2 separate regions of the Homo sapiens genome follow, and region 2 is linked to region 1. Evidence: promoter capture Hi-C in human tissues and cell types (Jung and others, 2019). All regions are on one chromosome and are shown on one strand. The core of a region is centred on a gene start or on the middle of the fragment in contact, and the rest is flanking DNA. Distances in the headings are between cores, read along the strand shown. Region 1 holds the start of VNN1 (vanin 1). Region 2 overlaps MOXD1 (monooxygenase DBH like 1).

The links. The method cuts DNA at HindIII sites, captures the fragments that hold promoters and counts their contacts. A contact is called where the count stands out against the background at its distance.
Region 2: a contact is called between a fragment that was not itself captured here and the fragment with the promoter of VNN1 in region 1, in 1 of the 25 tissues and cell types used here (thymus).

What each region holds. Positions count from the first base shown.
Region 1 is chr6:132,709,416-132,715,968 of GRCh38, forward strand. It overlaps VNN1 (vanin 1), which reads right to left and starts at 4,640. Exons shown (of 7, transcript NM_004666.3): 1 at 4,411-4,640; 2 at 2,294-2,424. The coding sequence starts at 4,620. The HindIII fragment of the contact is 14,207 bases long and covers 1-6,553 here.
Region 2 is chr6:132,289,870-132,296,282 of GRCh38, forward strand. MOXD1 (monooxygenase DBH like 1) reads right to left here. Exons shown (of 12, transcript NM_015529.4): 12 at 6,186-6,413. Among named protein-coding and RNA genes, the nearest start is that of MOXD1, 110 kb to the right of the region's middle. The HindIII fragment of the contact is 4,827 bases long and covers 1-4,496 here.

The DNA.
Region 1 (6,553 bases), core at 3,390-5,889:
AATCCCAGCACTTTGGGAGGCCGAGCAGGTGGATCACTTGAGGCCAGGAGTTCAAGACCAGCCTGGCCAACATGGTGAAACCCATCTCTACTGAAAATACAAAAAACTAGCTGGGTGTTGTGGCTCACACTTGTCATCTTCGGGAGGCTGAGGCACAAGAATTGCTTGGACCTGGGGGATAGAGGTTGCAGTGAGCTGAGATCACGCCACTGCACTCCAGCTTGGGCGACACAGAGTCTCTCTCTCAAAAAAAAAAAAAAGAGAGAGAGAGACAGAGAGAATTAAGGCAAGACATTCAGACATCATTAGTTGATGGAAAACATAAATGGGCAACCGTGTTCCTTGAAATGAAGTGAATGGGACATCCTTGTGGGGATGTTCAGGAGGCCCTTGGAGATGAGGTTCTAGGGAAAGGCCATTCAGAAATAAGTCAATTCAATTCATAGTGGAAGTGATAATAGAGTGCTTGCCTTTTAGAAACTGAAGCACTGACATATGACATGATTAAATAAGAAATAATTATGGTACAATTAAATAAGAATAGAGTAAATGATTATGATAAATAACACTGGAATTTATCAAAATCCACCTTGTCAAAATCAAGGTGTCTCTGTAAGTAGTTTTTGTGGGTTTGTTTGTTTGTTTGTTTTTGAGACAGAGTCTAGCTCTGTTACCCAGGCTGGAGTGCAGTGTCACTCTCTTGGCTCACTGCAACCTCTGCCTCCCAGGTTCAAGCAGTTCTCCCTGCCTCAGCCTTCCAAGTAGCTGGGATTATAGGTGCCCACCACCACGCCCCACTAATTTTTGTATTTTTAGTAGAGATGGGGTTTTGCCAAATTGGCCAGGCTGGTCTCAAACTCCTGACCTCAGGTGATCCTCCTGCCTCGGCCTCCCAAAGTGTTGGAATTACAGGCATGAGTCACCACACCCAGCCAGTTTCTGTGGGATTTTTAATTTTAGTATTATTATTATTATACTTTAAGTTCTGAGATACATGTGCAGAACATGCAGGCTTGTTACATAGGTATACACGTGCCATGGTGGTTTGCTGCACCCACCAACCCATCATCTACATTAGGTATTTCTCCTAATGCCATCCCTCCCTTAGCCCCCGACTCCCCGACAGGCCCCGGTGTGTGATGTTCCCCTCCTTGTGTCCATGTATTCTCGTTGTTCAACTCCCACTTATGAGCGAGAACATGCAGTGTTTTGTTTTCTGTTCCTGTGTTAGTTTGCTGAGAATGATGGTTTCCAGCTTTATCCATGTCCCTGCAAAGGACATGAACTTATCCTTTTTTACAGCTGTGTAGTGTTCTGTGGTATATATGTGCCACATTTTCTTTATCCAGTCTACCATTGATGGGTATTTGGGTTGGTTCCAAGTCTTTGCTATTGTGAACAGTGCTGCAATAAACATATGCATGCATGTGTCTTTATAGTAAAATGATTTATGATCCTTTGGTATATACCCAGTAATGGGATTGGTGGGTCAAATGGTATTTCTGGTTCTAGATCCTTGAGGAATCACCACACTGTCTTCCACAATGGTTGAACTAATTTATACTCCCACCAACAGTGTAAAAGAGTTCCCCTTTCTCCACATCCTCTCCAGCATCTGTTGTTTCCTGACTTTTTAATGATCACCATTCTAACTGGCGTTGTGCGGTTTTGAGAATAGTTCCAAAAGAGGAATTCCTAAAATAATTTTAGCCATGTGTATTCAGAAAGAAGTATGTGAATCGACATGATTTTCTTAGGTGTATAAGATATTGGTTTCCTTACATTAAAATTAATAGTGCTGCTTTCACCACACTTAATATCTCTGTAGCCGAGACCTGACTTAAACCACTTAAAATCCTGCCATATCACCTCTTAGATTACAATCAGCTTACACTTTAAGGACTTTACTACATTAACCTCATCAGCTATCTTAGCAATGAGAAAGGAAAACTATTAATCTTAAACTGATGTGACTCTCTTTTGCCATTTACTCATATAGTTTTCAAATCACAGACCTACACAGGGAAATATTTTTCTGTTCACTGGTGAGGAGTCAGAGACCAGAGATGTTCACACTGAATGTGATGATTTCTAAGCTACTTTCTAGCTCTGACTTCTGTGACTTCATAATTCATATTTGCTCTCCCAGTAAATATACCCATAGTAGATGAAAAATAAGCTATACTGAAACTTAAGAATTGATCATGGATCTATGCAATGATCATCAACAAAGTTTTCCCAGGTAAATCAAGTTGATGTTTACTAGTGAATTTTTCACAAGTTGTTTCTTTACCTGTTACGATTATTACAGGGGATCCAGTTTACTTCAGGGTCTGGGATGTCCTCCAAATATGGGTAGAGAGAGTCCCTGTTGAAGTTCCAGCCATAAATAGCATCTTCTGGAGTCACAATAATATGCGCACCCTGTTAAAAATGCAACTTAATCCAAAGGGGGGCCTGCAAGAGGAGCTGAGGAGCTGAGTGGCTGAGTAACAACTATTTGGGCTTCCCCCACACCCCTTAAATCTTATTTTGTTTTCTATATTTTTATAATTTATTTTCTTTTCCAAAGCATTTTAATTTCCTTTTTTTTCAGTGCACTGTCACTTCTTTTTCTTTTTCTTTTCTTTTCTTTATTTCTAATTTTAGATTCAAAGGGTACAAATGCAGGTTTGTTGCATGGATATGTTACATAATGGTGAGGTTTGGGCTTCTAGTCAAGCATTTTTTTTTCTCTCTTTTTTTTTTTTTTCAGATGGAGTTTCGCTCTGCTGCCCAGGCTGGAGTGCAATGGCTAGATCTCGGCTTACCACAATCTCCACCTCCCGGGTTCAAGCGATTCTCCCGCCTCAGCCTCATAAGTAGCTAGGATCACAGGCATCTGCCACCACGCCTGGCTAATTTTTGTATTTTTAGTAGAGATGGGGTTTCTCCATATTGGTCAGGATGGTCTTGAACTCCCAACCTCAGGTGATCCGCCTGCTTCAGCCTCCCAAAGTGTTGGAATTACAGACATGAGCCACCGCACCTGGCTTAGTCAAGCATTTTAATTTTCTAATCCTGCCATTGTTGTTTCCTATGGCAGTCGTTAACTATAAACCTAGCTTATCCTGGAACCAAGCCTCTCCTTGAACTTTCGCTGATGACTGTGCCTGTGTCAAGACTGATTAATAACTTAAATATTCTGTTTATTTCCTCCTCTGCCCTAGCTTTCCCCTGCAAACATGATTCCTGCTTCTCAGAAAAAGAGGAGCCACAAACTGGTTACTTGAACTGTCCCATGCCTACAAGTACTGCCTGAGCTAACCTGGGCACCTTCCAATTAGAGAGTCACCTTAAAAAGCTCTGTGACCTTCAAGGAAATAGTTGGACTAAGGATGAAAAAGAACATCAGAACTCCTGATAACCTTTTAAATATTAGTATATATAAGAATATAGGGCAGTCACGGTAGCTCATGCCTGTAATCCCAGCACTTTGGGAGCCCAAGGCAGGTGGATCACCTGAGGTCAGGAGTTCAAGTACAGCGTGGGCAACATGGCAAAATCCCATCTCTACAAAAAATACAAAACTTAGCTGGGCACGGTGGCATGCATCTGTGGTCCCAGCTACTCTGGAGACTGTAGTGGGAGAATCACCTGAGCCCGGGAAGTCAAGGCTGCAGTGAGACGTGATCACACCACTATACTCCATCCTGGGTGACAGAGTGAGACCTTAACTCAACAACACAAAAGAATATATATTTATAGATATATGTAATACACATTTATCCATGACTTTTATCACACTTCATGTATTCCTGGTCTACACCTAATCGATCAATAGCTTTTAAAATAATATTTGTGTAAACCACAATTTATACTGTATGATTAACTTCAAACTGAAACCTTCACTAAACTTAAGGACTCACAATGCATTACATATACTTTTATCTTGTAATTAGAATGAAGTGTGAAGTATATAATGCATGCTGGCAAGGAATTGAAAACTTAAATTTGTTTTCAGATTATAAATTTATTCGAAAACCTGCAAAGCCTTAATAGCACATGAGTACATGAAGGCCACTAATACTCTGAAAATAGCACCTAGTCCCTGACCCATTTATCCTCCATCCTCCATCTGTACCAGAAAAGGGGAACAAAGATGTTGAATTTATGGCCAGTTCCTCAAAGGTCTGCTGCTTCTTGATAATGAGCAAATTGTTCTTTTCTTAACTTTGTTCTTACTTTTAGGGAAGTCCTTGCTCTAATTTTGAGAGGAAAGTAGAATTCTAACTGTAAAATAAAGGTTCTTGGCTACTCTGATACATATATCATCTAAAAGTGTAACTGACCCTGACAGTGGCCCTGTCTCCTAGGACCCCCTCCTTTCTCATAGAATCCAGTACACTGGAGAGATGGTAGAGATGGTACCTGATCTGCTGCTGATGTGATCGCTCCTTCCAAAATGTCCAGATTCCGATTCATTAATGCCAAAGCCTCCTCACGAGACACTGGTGTTAGGGTGGCATTGGGCAATATCGCTGCATGCTCATAAACAGCTGCAGTGAAAGTGTCCTGGCAGCTGGCTCTTGAGACATAGAAAAGCAAAATTGCCACGTAAGCTGGCAACTGAGTAGTCATGCTGAAGTCCAATGAGTGCTGAAAAACAGAGCATGTCCTGGTATTTATAGAAAGAAGACACGTGGTGTCCAGAACTTAGTACCTTAAACTACGGAAGTTAATTAAGAAAACGCTATGATTTCATAGCATTGTTACATAACAAAAGACCCTACCTTATTGCAGTAATTTGTGAAGATTAACTCAAGAACTCTATGTACATTAGTTCGCTAGGGCTGCCTAACAAAATACAATAAACTGGGTGGTGTAAAAAATAAAAAATTTATTGCTTTGCAGTTCTGGAGGGTGGGAGTCCCAGATGAAGGTGTCAGCAGAGTTGGTTCCTCCTGAGGGCGGTGAAGGAAAGATGTGTTCCAGGCCTCTCTCCTTGACCCATAGATGGCTGCCTTCTCCCTGTGTCTCTTCATATGCTATTCTCCCCATGTGTGTGCCTGTATCCAAGTTTTCCCTTTTTGTGAGGACACCACTCTAATCTTTAACACAGGGAAAGGGAAAATCCCAGCTCTAGCTTTTTTTGTCATCGTTGTTGTTTGTTTATTGTTGTTGTTGTTTGAGATGGAGTTTCACTCTTGTCACCCAGGCTAGAGTGCAGTGGCGAAATCTCGGCTCACTGCAACCTCCGCCTCTCGGGTTCATGTGATTCTCCTGCCTCAGCCTCCCAAGTAGCTGGGATTACAGGCGCCCGCCACCACGCCAGGCTAATTTTTTGTATTTTTAGTAGAGATAGGGTTTCGCCGTGTTGGGCAGGCTGGTCTCAAATTGCTGACCTCAGGTGATCCACCTGCTTTGTTTTTATGCCAAATAAGGGCAGAAGAAAAAAGCCAACTGAAGGTCATAAACCCAGGGGTACAGGCTCACTGAAAGACTGAGACTCAATCATAGGACCAATTCGATTTAGTGCCCACTGTACTCCAGTATAACTTCATCTTAACTAATTAGATCTGAAATGACCCCTTTTCCAAAAAAGTTACATTCTAAGATACTGACAGTTAGGACTTCAACATATAAATTTTTGGAATTCATATATTTTGGAATGTCAACACAAGACATTCAAATAATTTTAAAACTTTATTATTATTTTCATGTGAATATTTCAGCTCTACACTTTGATTTACTTTATTTTCCTCAAAATGGGGAAGCCAGGACAAAGAGGAATACAAAAGAGTTACTCATTTTCTATTGCTATATAACAAATTATCCCCAAATTCAGCAGCTTCAAAAAGCAAAAATACATCATCTCCCACTTTCTCTGGGTCAGGAATCCAGGGGCAGTTTAGCTGGTGCCTCTGGCCCAAGGTCTCTTTCACAAGGCTGCAGTCAAGCAGCTGCCAGGGCTAGCTATATCAAGGCTTGACTCCAGGAGGATTCACTTCCGAGCTCCAAGCTCCCTCATGTGGCTGACGGCAGGGATCAAGACCTCATTGGTTGTTGCCCAGAGACATGAGTTCCTAGTGATGCAAACCTCACCATAGGGCAGCCCGCATTATGGTATCTGGATTCCCTTAGAGCCAGACAGCAAGTGAACCCACTGGAGATGGAAGCCACGGATGCTTCGTAATGTAATTGGGGAAGCAACACCTCATCGCTTTTGTTGTATTCTATCCAATAAAGCATTAGGAACCATCTTTGAAGCTGCTTATCACAGAGGCAACAGAGGTGTATAAAGAATCAGAGCAAAAAAAAGAAAAAATGAGCTGGGGAGCGAGATCCAGAGAGAGGAGAGGGAAATTATATAAAATAGAAAAACTGTTCATAGATTTTGATATTGAGTAAGCTGGCAAATTTTGTTTCAGTTGTGCATTAAGTATAATATTTACAGAATTAGTGTTTATGTTTTTCCATTTTATTTTTAGATCTATTTGTCTTTGAATGGTATTTTTATAGTTCAATCTGCAAACAGGCATATCTAATTTTTTACTTTAGTAACTATAATGCA
Region 2 (6,413 bases), core at 833-3,332, 420 kb before region 1:
ATGGAAAGCAATTCCATTCTTGCAATTCCAGTATCCCATCTGAATGACGGTGCTTCTAACTCTAGCAAGATTAGCAAATGACTAGGCAAGTTCATTGCAGAATCCTCATTTGGCCTGGGAAATTCTTTACAGGGAGCCAGTGATGTAAATGCAGAGAGTTCTAAGGGAAAAAAAATCCTTCACTTTTTCTGTCTACAAAGTGCATTCTCACCACTGCTCACAATTGGCTTAGGCACTTCCTCAAGCTGTTATTAAAATAAAGAAGTATATCTTCTTAAAATAACTAATGGGCTAAACAATTAAAAGATTAGCAAAAAATGCTTAAACTGATTAGATTAGAATTAAGGATGGAAATTAAATTTAAAAACAAAAAATTGAAGATAAAAGAACAAGAAGTTAAAGATTTAAATACAGTAATCTCAAAACAGAAGGTGAAGTATAAAATGCAAGCTACAACAAACTAACAATTTGGAAAATTTCAAAAGAGACTCAGAATCATTACAGTAAAAGGTTAGGAGACTTAAGGTTGATCTTAGAGCTTAACCCTCAATAAGAATTATTTTAAAATTATTTAAAGGCTGCATATGGACTTCCTGCAGAACCCATCTGTACAACCACATGTCACTTAAGCAAAGAGCAGACATTAGGAAATCTGTGTTAACCTTAAAAATGGAGGATTTAAAAATCTTTAAGAAGCTTAAGGTAATTTGAATTTAGAATTAGCAAGAAAATAAAGGCAATAGGGAAATAAGTATGTAGGCTGGGAAGGGCCAGGGCAGGTTCTTTGAGAAGTCTAATACCTCCAAGCCAACATTGGCAGGATTTATACCAGATATGCAGTAAGCCATCTAATGGCTTTAGGGGAGAAACACATCCTTTGTTTAATACACAAAATCCCCCTCTTCCCTTTATTTCCCATATTATTCCTTATTTTCAGTTAATAGTAATATAGTTTTATTTGATAGATTTATTTCAAAAAGTCTGTCTTTTAAATATATTCTAAGAAGAGAAGACAACTTATGAAATAGTCAAAGTGAGGTGAAGACACATGAACCAAATGTGGAAGGAAAAGTCTCATGAAGCAAGGAAAAATAGGCCAAAATTGTAAAGCTTTCCTCATAAAAAACTAGAACTCCATTTTTGCAAATCATAAAAAACACGAGAAAGGTAGATTGGTTCATTTTAACTTTATTAGTTTCATGACAGCAGATTATTTCCAGGAGGAAAAAGAGCAAAGAATAATGTCTTTCCTTTTGACAAACATGAGAAATGACAAGTAGCTAGTCATTGATTTTTTTTTCTTTTTGAGAATGATTGCCAAATTCACTCAGACCTAATATTCATTTGATTAAGTGTCATTCACTTTGAAAAACTGATTCAGTTAAAACCAAATTTCAATTGATTATATCCGGAAAATGGTATAGAAAATAAAATAGGAAACCTGCCTCTGTTGCCAGGAATTGTGCATCCTAAACATGGGGTCTTGCAAAGGAAAGAAGAAAACTGATATTGAGTGAGCTCAATGTGTCAGATGCTGTATCTTTATTACCATATTTAATCCACAAGCAACTTCTTAAGATTAGAAATTATTATCACTACTTTACTGATGGGAAAAGAGAAATTTACTAAGTCATTTTGGATATAGTTTATGTCCACATAGTTTAAAGTAAAGCAATTGGAAATTAGGTCTCCCATAATTACCACAGTACAACATGCTGTCTACTTACCTTTTCTGAATATAACTATTCACTTGTAAAAGCAGTTTTAAGCATTAATGAGAATATTGTGAAAACACTTTGCAAATTCCAAAACATTATAAAAATGTATGGCATTATTTTGATTAGTAATATTTAATGGATTAGTAAAAAATAAGAGGGAAACTTGGGTAATTCAGGCTTTCATTCTACATTTGTATATTATTCCCCCCAAATTCCTTTTTTCACATTATATCAATTCCACAACAAATATTAAAGAAGTTGGAAAAGAAATGTCTTTATTAAATAAACCTTAGATTGAGGCCACAGAGTCCTCATGCTATTGTTAATCAAAGGACAATGAAGGGAACTCTATAAAACAACTTTCATTAAAAGTTGCCTTTTTAACGTAAGGTTTTCCTTATGGTAAAGCAATTTAGCAACATCATGATGACCAAAAAAGTCACTGGAAATATTTTGCTCTTTGTGATGGAAAACCTTTAGAAAGGGCAAAAGCTGTGACTGGTCAAAGAGAGTCACTTATAACTCATCTGATGAATTTTGTTTTTTAATTTTTCTGCTTTCATTGTTGGGAAATAAGGCAGGATTTTGAAATTTAGCATTCTCTTAAGGAATAAAATTACTTAGGAAATAAAGGTAGTCTCTATCTATAGGTCTGAAATGTTCCAAAGATATGCAGCTTTGTCAACATTTCTGAAATACCTTATTGATGTCAAATAATTCATTTTAGCATATTCCCTGAGAAAATGGTAAATTGTTTTTCATTTTTTCTGTAAGTTGTACCACTCTAGATTAATAAAAAACAGAGGGCCGGGCACAATGGCTCAAGCCTATAATCCCAGCACTTTGGGAGGCCAAAGAGGATAGATTGCTTGAGCTCAGGAGTTTGAGACAAGCCTGGGCAACATGGTGAGACCCTGTCTTTACCAAAAACAGAAAAAAATAAAAATAGCCAAACATGGTGGTGCGCACCTGTGGTCCCAGCTACTCAGGCGGCTGTGGTGGGAGGATTTCTCTCTCTCTCAAAAAAAAAAAAAAAAAATGAGGGTGTGTTTGTTTATTGGCAAAATAACACGGCAAATAAGGAATAGACCATGAACCCAAGTGAAAGGCTTATGTCTGTTGGACTGTTTTACAGTTGCCCATGAACAGTTTGGAAGTTTCCAAGAACCTGTTAAAGAAACCTGGACATGCTCTGCTCAGAAAGTTGTGTGCCCCAGAGTTTGTTCCTTTGGGAACATTGCTCCACCACAACAGGGGTTTGGTGAAATGAGTTTGAGAAATGTTTCATACTATATAACTCTTCTTGGACTTTCAAATGCACATTATTATATTTAAGACAGAGACGTTATGCAATAAGCCTGTTTTAAGTTGTAACAATGTTCCATGACTCTTCATAGTTTCCATGGATCACAGCTCTGGCCTGGGCAGTAATGGATGCTGCCATGAGCCTGTTCAACTGACCATTTTCTACTCATAAAGTACCAGTCTGACTATGTTGGATTTAGATACAACTGTCAATTAAAATCTTGTAGGGCTAAGATGTTCAATATGATATAAACTATGTTCATAGTCCACATAATCTATGGAGAAAGGATGGTCCATGATGATGATGTAAGCTTTCTGTAAAGCTAAATTTATTCAATTTGAAGAACTGATATTTATTTTGAATGCTTCCAATTTGTAAAATGAAATGTTGGTGATAAGAGGTTTAATGTACTCAGCTATGGGCTTCATCACAATTGTAAGCCCAACGCTGTAGTACAGAGCATGGCTCAACATAGGCTCAATACAATTTGTTAATTTATTAAATAAATAGTAACCATTCTGTTTAGTATCCTATTTTGCCAAACATAAGTTGACAACCCTATGTTGGTTTGATCATTGTTTTTAAAACTCAAAAATCTTGGAATCATTTGAGTAGATGAAAGTCAATTTTACTAAAAACATATATTGCAGCAGAGATGTCTTCCTTTCTGTAGTGTTGTCATTCTCCAGGTACCCAAAGATAGATGACATTCTTAGCCCCTCTTGCATTTCAATGAGGCCATGTGACTTATTTTAACCAACGTGGTGAAAGTGGAAGTGATTTCTGCCCCTTCTAGGTCAGGTCCTTCTCCATTAGCAGGCGGAATGCAAATGACCCTGAGCCCTAGGAATGATAAGGCCACAGGATCCTGGGTCCCGGAATCACCACAAGAAGGAAAGCCAATGACCAGATGAACACACATTGAGCAATTAATTGATGAAAAATAAACTTCATTGTGTTAAAGTATTGATATTTTGGAATTTGTTTCAGAAGCTAGTGTTACCTAACATCTGTATCTCCATCTATATATGAATATACACAGATATACACCTTTGCAGACATATACTAGAAGCATATGCAATGTAAAAGTTAGAAGTGGGAAATAGAATTAACAGATTTTATTTATTAACAGGTTTTATTTATTCTTTGGTCAATAGGATTAACAGATTTTATTATTTAAAAAATTATCATACTTTTCTAAGTTTTCTTTAGCAAATGGGCATTACACATTAGGTTTATAATCAGGGGGAGAGCAAAATAAATATATTATTTTTAAGTGATTTCCAGCCTGCAAGACCTCTTCCTTTTTTTTTTTTTTTTTTTTTTTTAGTTTTTTGGATTTTTCCTCACTCCCTGGGTCCCTCAAGCCCTCTGTTTTTTGTTTTGTGGTTCCTTTTTTCTTTTTTTTTTCCTTCCAAACTGGAAGCACATCCTATCTTTAGTCAGAACTGACAAACTTGCAGTCATCTCTGCCCTCTCTCAGGGGTATCTGAGGAGTAAGCACCATCTAGTTTCTCTCTTTACCACCTCAAAATGTAGGAATACTGCAAAGGGAAGAAAACCTACCTGGATCACTGTGCTGTAGCTGGATTCTTCATGATGTTTTCTGCATTTCTAGCTTTTTATTCTGAAATAATTTCAAACTTAAAAAATTGCAACAATAGTACAAAGAAATCTTATGTTCTCCAACCAGACTCACCCATTATTATCATTTTACATGTCTCTCTCTGTAGATACATAGCCAGATACCACATAGATAGATAGATGATAGATAGATAGATGGATAGATAATTTTTCCAAACCATTTGAGAAAAAGTTAAAGTTATCTGACAATATTTCATCAAAATTCTTGAAATACGCAATGATTATTTCTGTAATTCCACTTATTATGACCTAGATGTAAGAAAATACTTAGGGATATAAAAAAGTTTTAATTTCAAAGTTGTTAAATCACCAATACTTATATTAAAAATTGAAATGACTTTTACACCCAATAATGAGTTTGGCTGAGCAATAGCCTTTACATACTGCTTCCAAATGTCCTTTTGTTTGCCACCCATCATTGGCCTCTGGAGCCATTAGGACAAAGTCTGAAGCTCTTAATATGTCTACCTCTATTGACTACATCACTCTTATCACTGCTAGGACTCCTTTGATTCTGCCTGAGCCCCCTTCAGAAAAAAAAAAAGATCACCCAGGATACCCTCAATTTTACATGGCACTGATGAATGTTGGTTTCACCAGGTATGTCTTCTCCACACTCTCTGAACCTAAGGATCCAACCAGAGACCATCATACATGGAGACCCCATTCTCCCCAAAGTCTCGGGGACTTGTGCCTGACAGCCTAGGTGTCAGGTGATGCTATTTAATCTAGGAAAGCAATTAAAAGCCTCTCTGAAAAAGGAGTAATAAAAAGCCCGGCTGTTCAGGAAGGTGTGCTCAACATAAGACCAAATAACTTAGAATACAATCAGAATTCTATAGAACTTACAACAGATAACCTATCCCAATTTGAAATAGAGTCTATTCCTTGAAATCACATATATTCATGAGAATTTCCAGAAGAATAATGTCAACTTTCTTCTTAGTAACATCAATGGAAGAGATTCCCTGGCCTGGCTCCATAAATTAAGCTTCCAAAGCTGTTTACCCTCGTCTAGCTGGTATGTTCACCTTCCTTACCAAGAACAAATATAATATTACAGAATATTTGTTCTTGGTAAGAACAAATATAATATTACAGAATCTCAGGAGGAAATCATTTGACTTTGATACCTCAAATTCAGAAATTCTGAAGTAAAAATCAACATAAAATTTCAAATAGGGAGCATTTGGAATTATATTTCTCATATAAATATTTGAATGGAAAATCATAGAATGTGAAATAGCACTTATAAAATAAAAAGAAAGTAAACTCAAAAATATGCCTCAAAAATATTAAAAACATTTCATCAAATGTACAAGTTCTAAGAATCAAGAAGGAAATACTCTGAAACATATTTATTTAAAAGGCAATACGTTTTGTGTTGAAGACATTATGGGGCAAAAAGGGCTTCAAAATGGAATGGAAAATGCAACATTCTGAATTGACTTTTACTGTTAATACTAGTACTGAATCACTTACTTTTCTTAAACAATGTATAAAATACCACACAAAAGTGTAATTTCATTTAGTTTATTAATATGATCCAAACAGATTTAGCTTAAGAGATGAGGACAGGACATAAAACAAGATTTGGCTGAGCTATATAAAGAAAACCAAAAGAGTGACAAGATTTTCAATTGGTGACAATTTAAAGTCATTTATTAACTAATATAAAAATAAATCTACAATAGAACCATGACTTAAACTGAGCCAGTATGTGGTACATGTGTCACCCAAAGTCA